Linked DNA regions of Homo sapiens: region 1 is linked to region 2. Evidence: promoter capture Hi-C in human tissues and cell types (Jung and others, 2019). All regions are on one chromosome and are shown on one strand. Each heading gives the region's core, a stretch centred on a gene start or on the middle of the fragment in contact. The rest is flanking DNA. Distances are from core to core; before and after follow the strand shown.

What was found. Contacts are between HindIII fragments. The study calls those that stand out against the background at their distance.
Region 1: a fragment that was not itself captured here is called in contact with the fragment with the promoter of HMHB1 in region 2 in 1 of the 25 tissues and cell types used here (dorsolateral prefrontal cortex).

Annotation. Positions count from the first base shown.
Region 1 is chr5:143,187,748-143,192,136 of GRCh38, forward strand. All of the region lies in intron 20 of ARHGAP26 (Rho GTPase activating protein 26), which reads left to right. Among named protein-coding and RNA genes, the nearest start is that of ARHGAP26-IT1, 2.6 kb to the right of the region's middle. The HindIII fragment of the contact is 6,015 bases long and covers 1-4,389 here.
Region 2 is chr5:143,810,251-143,814,342 of GRCh38, forward strand. HMHB1 (histocompatibility minor HB-1) reads left to right here and starts at 1,911. Exons shown (of 2, transcript NM_021182.3): 1 at 1,911-2,054. The coding sequence starts at 2,018. The HindIII fragment of the contact is 7,714 bases long and covers 1-4,092 here.

The DNA.
Region 1 (4,389 bases), core at 609-3,108, 620 kb before region 2:
AGGACTGTTGGGACGAGTCAGTGACAGGGGAGTGTCCAGCCCTACCTGGCATGTCATAAGTGCACTCTATCCATTGGGAGCTGTTATTTTAGAAGCAGGACTTCGTGTTGTTGCTATGTCTTGCCTCAGCAGAGAGAAACATTTTGCTCTTGACACTGATTGTCCCTTCTCAGCTGTAAGGAGGCCACAGCCCCCTTGATTTTGAACCCAAAAATGGAAAATGAGAGCATTCCATCTCACAGGACACTTTCGCAAACTACACCAGCCCAGTCTGATCCCTCCCTTCTCAGAATCCCTACAGTTCTTTTGACCAAATCTCAGATTAGCACTAAAAGTTTATTAATTCAGTGGATAAGAAGCTTACACATATTTCCAGAGCCAAAAAGAATAATAAAATCCATGCAAACAAATAAAAGGTTTTAGAGGAACAAAGTAATCACAACAGTGTTTTGCTACTAAGTACAATACGTGGGGGCATTCACACTTCCCAGTCATTTCCAGAGCTGACCTAGAACACAATAGGAACCAAGATCAGTGGTTCCCATCTCTGGTTGCTCATCAGAACCACAAGGCCAGAGCAGGAATAGTATTTTGAAGATATAGCTTCTTAGGCCCCAACCCTGCCATAGTCATTCAATTTCTTGCTAATGTTAGGACTTGCCATTTTGTAAAGTACATTTGATTTTCTTTCATTTTTGTAATTTTGTCATTTGTAATAGTCCTTCCCGGAGGGGAGTCTCCCTTCCTTCCTATAGTTTTCTGGGAGAATGACAGAAAATTTGAGTATATATAGTAGAGTACCATTTTGTCATGATAAGGCTGGGTGACAATGTTGGAAGAAGGAAGAGCTGACAGAGACATGCTGTGGGGTTTTGGGGATGACATTGTGGAAAGTTTACCCTCACTAACATTTCAGGTAGGTATATTTGAAAGTGTAGACTGATGATTTCTGAAGGGAACTGAATGAGCTTGTACCACTGTGACCATGAATACCGTTGCAAGTGAATTAACATAAATATACTGACAAAAAGTGAGTAGAACTTTAGAACTGTTACATCTCAGGTAGTGAAAGTGAGGGTAACCTAGAAAAAGGAGGTGTAATAACTGTAGTATCAAACAGTGTGTTGCATCCTGCAAATAGCTAGAGATGTGGCAGGTTACACAGAAGAAGAGAAGTCCCTGGGCTGTTTGTTTGGGGCTTGTGTAGTTCCCCGTTTCCAAAATGGAACAAGCGACATACTCTTTTAAGGGTGCACAGAGACTTCATTGAAAAGGCAAGCATTTGTTTCCCTAAACAGAATGACTTTTTAGCTTTACCAAGAAACAATTTCTTGCAGGAAAAGTATGTTTTGCTGTTATCAGCTACTACTGGGAATTCTGCTACAGACAGGCCAATGTTTACCACTGATCTTCTTTCCACAGTTCTTTCAAAATAGGACCCTTTCCATTAAGTTCACATAGTATTCTGGGAAAAGTCTCTGTGATTAAGCAAAGAGACTGTGAAGGAGCTTAGGCAGAAATGGGGGTTAGCTTTGTTTTAATCCTAAATGTTTAACCATAAAAAAGATGCACTTGGGCTTAAGACAGTGAGCCCTCAGCAGTCTACTTTGTTGAGATCTCGGCTCAGATGTCACCCAAAAGAAGTTGCCCTAGCCACAGAATCCAAATTACACCCACACACCCTCCCCACCCAGGCACCTGCTTTCACACTGCCTTGATTTTAGTTGATTTCATAGCTCTTAATACCACCTAAAATTATCTTCTTTGGTTGTTTACGAGTTTATTTTCTGCTTTACACACTCATAAGTAGTATTTCCTAAATTTTTTCCATTAGGATAATAATTAAAATATTATCAAAAAGCATGTACTTCCAATAAGTGTTTGTTTTTATTTACTTAATTATAAAGTGTATACCTGCCTTAGTAATTGCTATATTACACACATTAGAAAACATAAAAAATATAAATGTTATAAGAATCAGATATTTAAAATGCCAATAGGAGCTTTGATATTTTTCTCCTCCACCAGCCTGTGTTCTCGCCCACCCTACCTTGAAGCCTACTGAACTTGAATGTAAGCTGCCTGAGAGCAGAGGGCTTGCTTGGCTTGTTACCTGCTGTGTTTCCAGTGCCTACAACTGTGCCTAGCATGTACTAGGTGCTAAGTAAATATTTGATTATTAAATATTTATTGTTGAGTAGTAAACAAGGCTAAGGCACAATTCACTCTTCCAGGCTCCTAATAGCTAAGGTTTTACTACATCTTTGGAGGACAGAAGGAGGGGGGGGAAAAAAAAAAAAAGACCTGGTTTCTGGGGTTCAGAATGCCTTCCTAATACAATATGTGCTGAATAAGGATTTACTGTAATGATTCAAATCCTTCACCAAAGAGGTAATTACAGCTTCCTTGGTAAGAGCAGAGCTCAGGCAGACAGACAGGTGGTTTCTAGTTTCTCTTATAACAGATGGCACAAATGGACCAGCTTCTGAAGCTTTTTGAGGAAATTTGCTCATAAACAGTTTTAAATATTTTTCTTTTATATCTTCCAACACATGCTTCTTAAAGTAAAAATGCTTCAGTAGATTGCAGGCAAGGGCACATATTATGAATAGTGCTGCACGGGGCAGGGTGCTTGCAGTTTGCCTGAGTAGCAGATGCAGCATGTCAGGAACATAAGAGGGAGGCTCTGTGCGCCATGGTGGCTAGATATACATTGAATTTTCGAAGTGCTTAAGGAAAAAACAAAGCTGTCCACCAAGAATTTTATGATCAGCAAAACTATTCTTCTCAAATGAAAGTGAAATAAAGATATTCCCAGACAATTTCTAGAAGAAAGCATAGGAGAAAATGTGTAGGTTAGGCAAATACTTAGATTTAACATCAAAAGCACAATTTAAAAAGAAAAAAATTAACAAATTGAACTTGACCAAAATTAAAAATGTTTGCCCTTCAAAAGACACCACTGAAAAAATGAGAGGACAAGCCACACACTGGGAAAATATATTTGCAAATATTATCACTAATAAAGAACTTGTATCCAGAATCTATGCAGAAATCTTACTACTCAATAAGAACATGGTGTCCATAGAATGGAATAGAATTCAGTAATAAACATGAATTGACTACTTATACACGCCAGAACATGGGTGAACTTCAGAAAACATGCTAAATGAAATGTCAGACACAAAAGACCACACAATATGCAATTCCACTTTTGTGAAATATCTAGAAAAGGCAGATCTCTAGAGTTAGAATGCAGATCAGTGGTTGCCTGTGGCTGAGCATGGGAGCAGGGCTTAACTGCAAATGGCAGGAAGGACCTTTTTGGGGTGATGGTGGCATTATAAAACTGAATATGGATGATGCTTGCACAGCTCCATCAGTATTCTAAAAGTTGTACACTTAAGTAAGGCAGATAAATTTCATGGTATATAAATTATACCTCAATAAAGCTGTTTTAAACTCTCCCAGGAGTACAAAGCATTCCTTAAATGTTGATAACTGTTGTTGTTTTTATTATTCTGTAGGTAGTGTAGACAAATGATACCAAAATTAAGAGAGAAACATTAAATGACTGTGTACACCTTGCTTGAGTGGACAAATATGCTTTTCATTCATTAAATTGGCTCTTCCAAATAATTAAGTAGATCTTGGGAAAATATATGCCACACTTTTACAAGAGGGTATAAAAGGATTAGTGGCCGAGAACAGAAATTTCCAAAATGTGAGCTGTGTGACACTGAGATAGCTGAAATAGCTTTAAGTGGTGCTTGGGTGAACTTTATTCTATATACTAATAATAATGAGATATTATTTGCAATGGGCTAAAGTAGACATTTGTTAAAGAGATCAATCTAAAGAAAATATTAAGAAAATATGTATTAAAATTACATGTGATACACAGATGTGACAAACGTCATGAAGGTGGGACACTCATGACTGAGTTTGGGCGCCACCACCCAGTAGCCAGGAGCAAGAACAATGCCAGTGGGTGGCTGAGAATGAATACTGAAACACAGGCATTCATCCAAGTTTATGCCCAATGTGCCTGTCTCCCTCCCAACCAGAAATGAAATGTCTGAATGTCCCCTTCCATCGTATTTGTCAGGCCTGTCTTAGGCAAGCCGACAAGTGGCCATATGTGGAGCTGTCGTGACAACACCAGAATGAGAGCTGTACCGTTTTATGACATCAGATAATTCTGACTCAGAAATGTCTGCCTTCCCTGTCTGCCAGCAGTCTTACCCTTGGTTTCTGGTAGATCCATTTCCATTCTTTTAACTATTTACTTGATCCTGTGGAGTCTTTCTTAAAAATACAGTCTTTAGATATTGTCAGTTCTAAGCATTCACAGTGTGCAAGAGATAAAAGAGGGATAAGACAACTGCA
Region 2 (4,092 bases), core at 661-3,160:
AGAAAAGCAGTGATGATGCTTTATGACCATATGTTCTTTTTGACAAAAAAGCAGTCTTTAACAGTTTTGGCTAATTGCAAAAAGCCAATGCATTCTCAAAGGAAAAAGATATGCCAACACTGAAGATACTTTTGAGAAAATTCCATCATCAAAGAAGATGGTTTTTGTTTTTTACAGACCCAGTCTTTCTCTGTCATCCAGGTTGGGGTGCATTATTGGAGTGATCATGGCTTACTGCAGCCTCAAACTCCTGGGCTCAATTGATCCTCTGGCCTCAGCCTCCTGAGTAACTGAGGCTACATGTATGCACCACCGTGCCTGGCTAATTTTTTATTTTTTATTTATTATTTTTTTTTGTGTGGGGATGAGGTCTATGTTGACCAGGCTGGTTTCAAACTCCTGGGCTCAAGCGATCCTGCTGCCTTGGCCTCCCAAAGTGCTGGGAATTACAGGTGTGAGCCACAGTGCCTGGCTAAGATGGAGTTTTATATACAGAATTATCAGGCCTTCTTTCATATCTCATCCTCAATATGCAAATAACTAATTCATTTAGCAAATATTTATTGAACGTCCATTATGTATGAGGCACTATTGTAAGTATTGGAATAAGTGCAGTGAACAGGTCAGATATGGTAACTGCCTGGATGGAGTTTATGTTATAATGGAAGCAAATAGACACAAGAAATATGATCGCATCAGGTATTTATAAGTGTTATGGTGAAAATAATGCAGAGTAATCTAATCTAGGGAGTGAGAGGGTGACTAGGGTCACCCATGTGGTGGCTAGGTGCCTGGGTCTGGCGTTGCACTTCTTCCATTCAAATCCTGGCTCCATGCACCTCTGGCTCTATGGCCTTGTCCAGTTGTGCACTCTCTAAATCCCAGTTTTGTTACCTGTAAAATGGACATATTAACATTACCTACTTTAAAGAGGTGTTTTAAAGAAAATGGCTACTCCTAACATCTCCCCAAGAACCAAGCACAGAATTTTGGAAGTTTTAATATATTTTCTTAAAGAAGTCTCTTTCTCAGCATTGTAAGACAATTAACTAGATTCAAGTCTCAGAGTTGTTAAGTTATTTTATCTTAAGGCATCCAACGGCACAGATTGACATTAAAGTGAAAGAAGAACTAGCTTCATCATTGCCATTGTTCTTTACCATAGCCCATGGGAACACAGGACCCGGCTGACTGAGAAAAGTGAATGAGGGGAATTATATCAGAAATGACAGAGAAGGATGGGCAGGATTTCTGGCAGGCACAGGTATTTCTAAGTAAGAAATGGTGTGGTTAGGAGAGAATACTCTCAAGAAGGGGAGAGATGGATTCTGCGGCAAAGGGAGGTTCCTTCATTCAGTGTTTATGGAGAGAATAAAGGCGCTGGCCCCTCCAGTGAGGATATGGAGTAAACGAGACAATCAAGTCCATCACTCCTGGAGCCTGCATTCTAGTGTGGAAGACAGACAGCAAATGATACATCAACATTAAGAAATTCATGAGTAAATAAAGATAATTTCAGGCAATAATAATTACTCTGAAGAACATAAACAGGGACCTATGATAGAAAAGGGGTGTAAAGGAGTTTGGAGGATTTAAGCTGAGTGAGCAATCTCATCTCTATTTTGATAAGGTCACTGTGGATTCTGTGTGGATAACACATTGGATGTGGATAAGAACAGGAGCAGAGAGACCTCCAATAGCAGGAGGCTGCTCTAGGGGTCCTTGCAAGGGATGCTGGCAGCTTGGACCCGAGTGGTGGGATGCAGATGGAAGAGGCAGGTGGACAGATGAGACAGCTGAAGCAGGAAAAGCAGGCACAAAGGCTAACACAACACAATGTAACAGAACGGGAGTTTAGAACGGAAGGAACACTCCAGAGTCATTCTGGTCCAATTCTGCAGATGAGGAAACCACATCCCAGGAGGCCGAGGCGGCTTGCCCCGCATCTCAGAAGCCGGGCAGGCCCTGAGCCTTCTGACCTCACATCCTCTGCCACACCACAGTGGAGAAACCAGAACTGGAGGAGCAGCCAGAATGCAGAGAAGAAAAAAGAGGTGAGGGAGCGAGGAGGAGGGAGAACAGAGAGAGAGGGAAAGAGGCAGCGAAGGGGCAGAGAAAATGAAAGAAAATGCTGGTGGAATGAGAGGGAAACCACAACAGGTGAAAACAGGGATGGCGGAAGGCAGGGGAGAGGAGTGAGACGGCCCTTGTTGCTGGGATTATTTAGGGCGGATAGTTTCCAGTTGAGGTTCGGTTTCATAGCCCATTGCCTGGCTGCCTGCAGCTGTCAGGGCACCAGAGGCAGCAGTTGGAGCAGCTGCCTGCACCACCTGAGCCACAAGGACAACGGCAAGGGAAGTGCAGATGGGCAGGAAGTCCCTCTGGGTCGGAGCCAGGGTAGCCAAGATCACATTGTTCTTGCCCACCGCGTGGGATGCTCAGGCTTCCCAAGGCAGCCCAGAGACCAGACCCGTCCTTTATCCTTAGCATGGCCACCATCATCACCATCATCGCCATGCTCCCACTTCTTAGGATCATGTGCCGGGGGCTTTGCATGCATTTCTCTCTTTCATCCTCACAGAAGCACTTGAGGGGGGTATAGCTTTCCCCAGTTTACAGATAAAGACACGATGGCTTCATTCCTTAACTCACTAACCTCATTTCAGAGCCAGGAAATGGCAGAAAGGCCCTGCTGTCGTGTTTTTTGTTTGTTTGTTTGTTTTTTTGTCTTGTTTTCTCCTCTTGAAGAGGACACACGGAGCCCTGGGTTGACGTTATAGGAGGTGTTGGTGCCGTGCACTGAAGGGATCTGCTGTTTTCTCCTTCCTGCAACTGGAGGTCACTCAGCCTGGACTGATGAGGCCGGGGAAGCCTGTGCTCTGTCTGGTCCACACAGCCCCCTCAGCCACCCCAGGGAATGCTCAGATCCAGTTGCACAGGTAGCCCACAGAATACAAACAGAACTTTCTTTTAGAATTTTTATGCTGTTTTATTGTTTCATACAGACAACTACCGACCTTCCCTTTTTTCCTTCAAGGCCCCTTTCAAATGTCACCTCTTCTATGAAGGTTTTATTTCTTTCCAGGCAAAATAAACCACTCCCTTTTTGGTGCCCTCATAGTTTTACATTTTGGCCTAAAGCACTTGTTCGCCTCCTCCATCAGAGCATGGGATTCTTGAGGGAAGGAACTGTGTTTTAATCATTTCTGTATCCTTGGCATCTAGCACAGTGCTTGGCACAGTAAAAGCTGTCAATAAATGTTAGCTGAACTGAAAAGTAAAAAATGGAAAGGGCATTTGTTGGGGCCAGCATAAGTCAACTGTTTCCATCCTTGTTTCCTTAACTCAGAAACTCAAATGAAGAAAGACATTGTCAGTCTCATGAGCAGTCCATATTTTTTTTTATTGGTGAGAGATAAAGTAAATGGCATGTGGATTTCCTTTGGAAGAATAACAAATAAAATTCTTTTGTAAGGATGTGAATTATAAAATTAACTTTTTTTATCTCCAGATTGTCATTTTGCAAGGAAAAAAATATAAGTAATAAATATGAACATACCTTTTTTATTTCAGACTTTTGCTCCATAGGCAATAGAAATGAGATGGCCAATTACAGTATTGAAGCAGAAGTACAGATATAACTCAGTGCAGAGGCAAATATGGCACATGATATTTTCATATTTTTATGTGTTACTATGAGTAACACTATTGCAAATTCATTTTATTTATGATTTGGTCTTTGTAGCTCCAATTTCATTATTAACTGAAATTTCATAGCATCATTCTTACTGACATGCATTGAAGATAAAAATGTTCTATATTTTCCTCATCTATCCTTGTCTTTTTCTTTATTAAAAATGTAGCCATTGGCAAAATAAAAGAACTAGCAATAAGCATACTGAAATCACAACTGAGACACATGACAATAATCTATAACCATGACACCTGTCCAGGCTGCATCCAGCCAAATATGGATCCAAAAAAAGGAATACTCATATTTGTTACTTATATTTTTTTCCTTGCAAAATAACAATTTGGAGATAACAAAAAGTTAATTTTATAACTCATATCCTTATAAAATACTTTTATTTG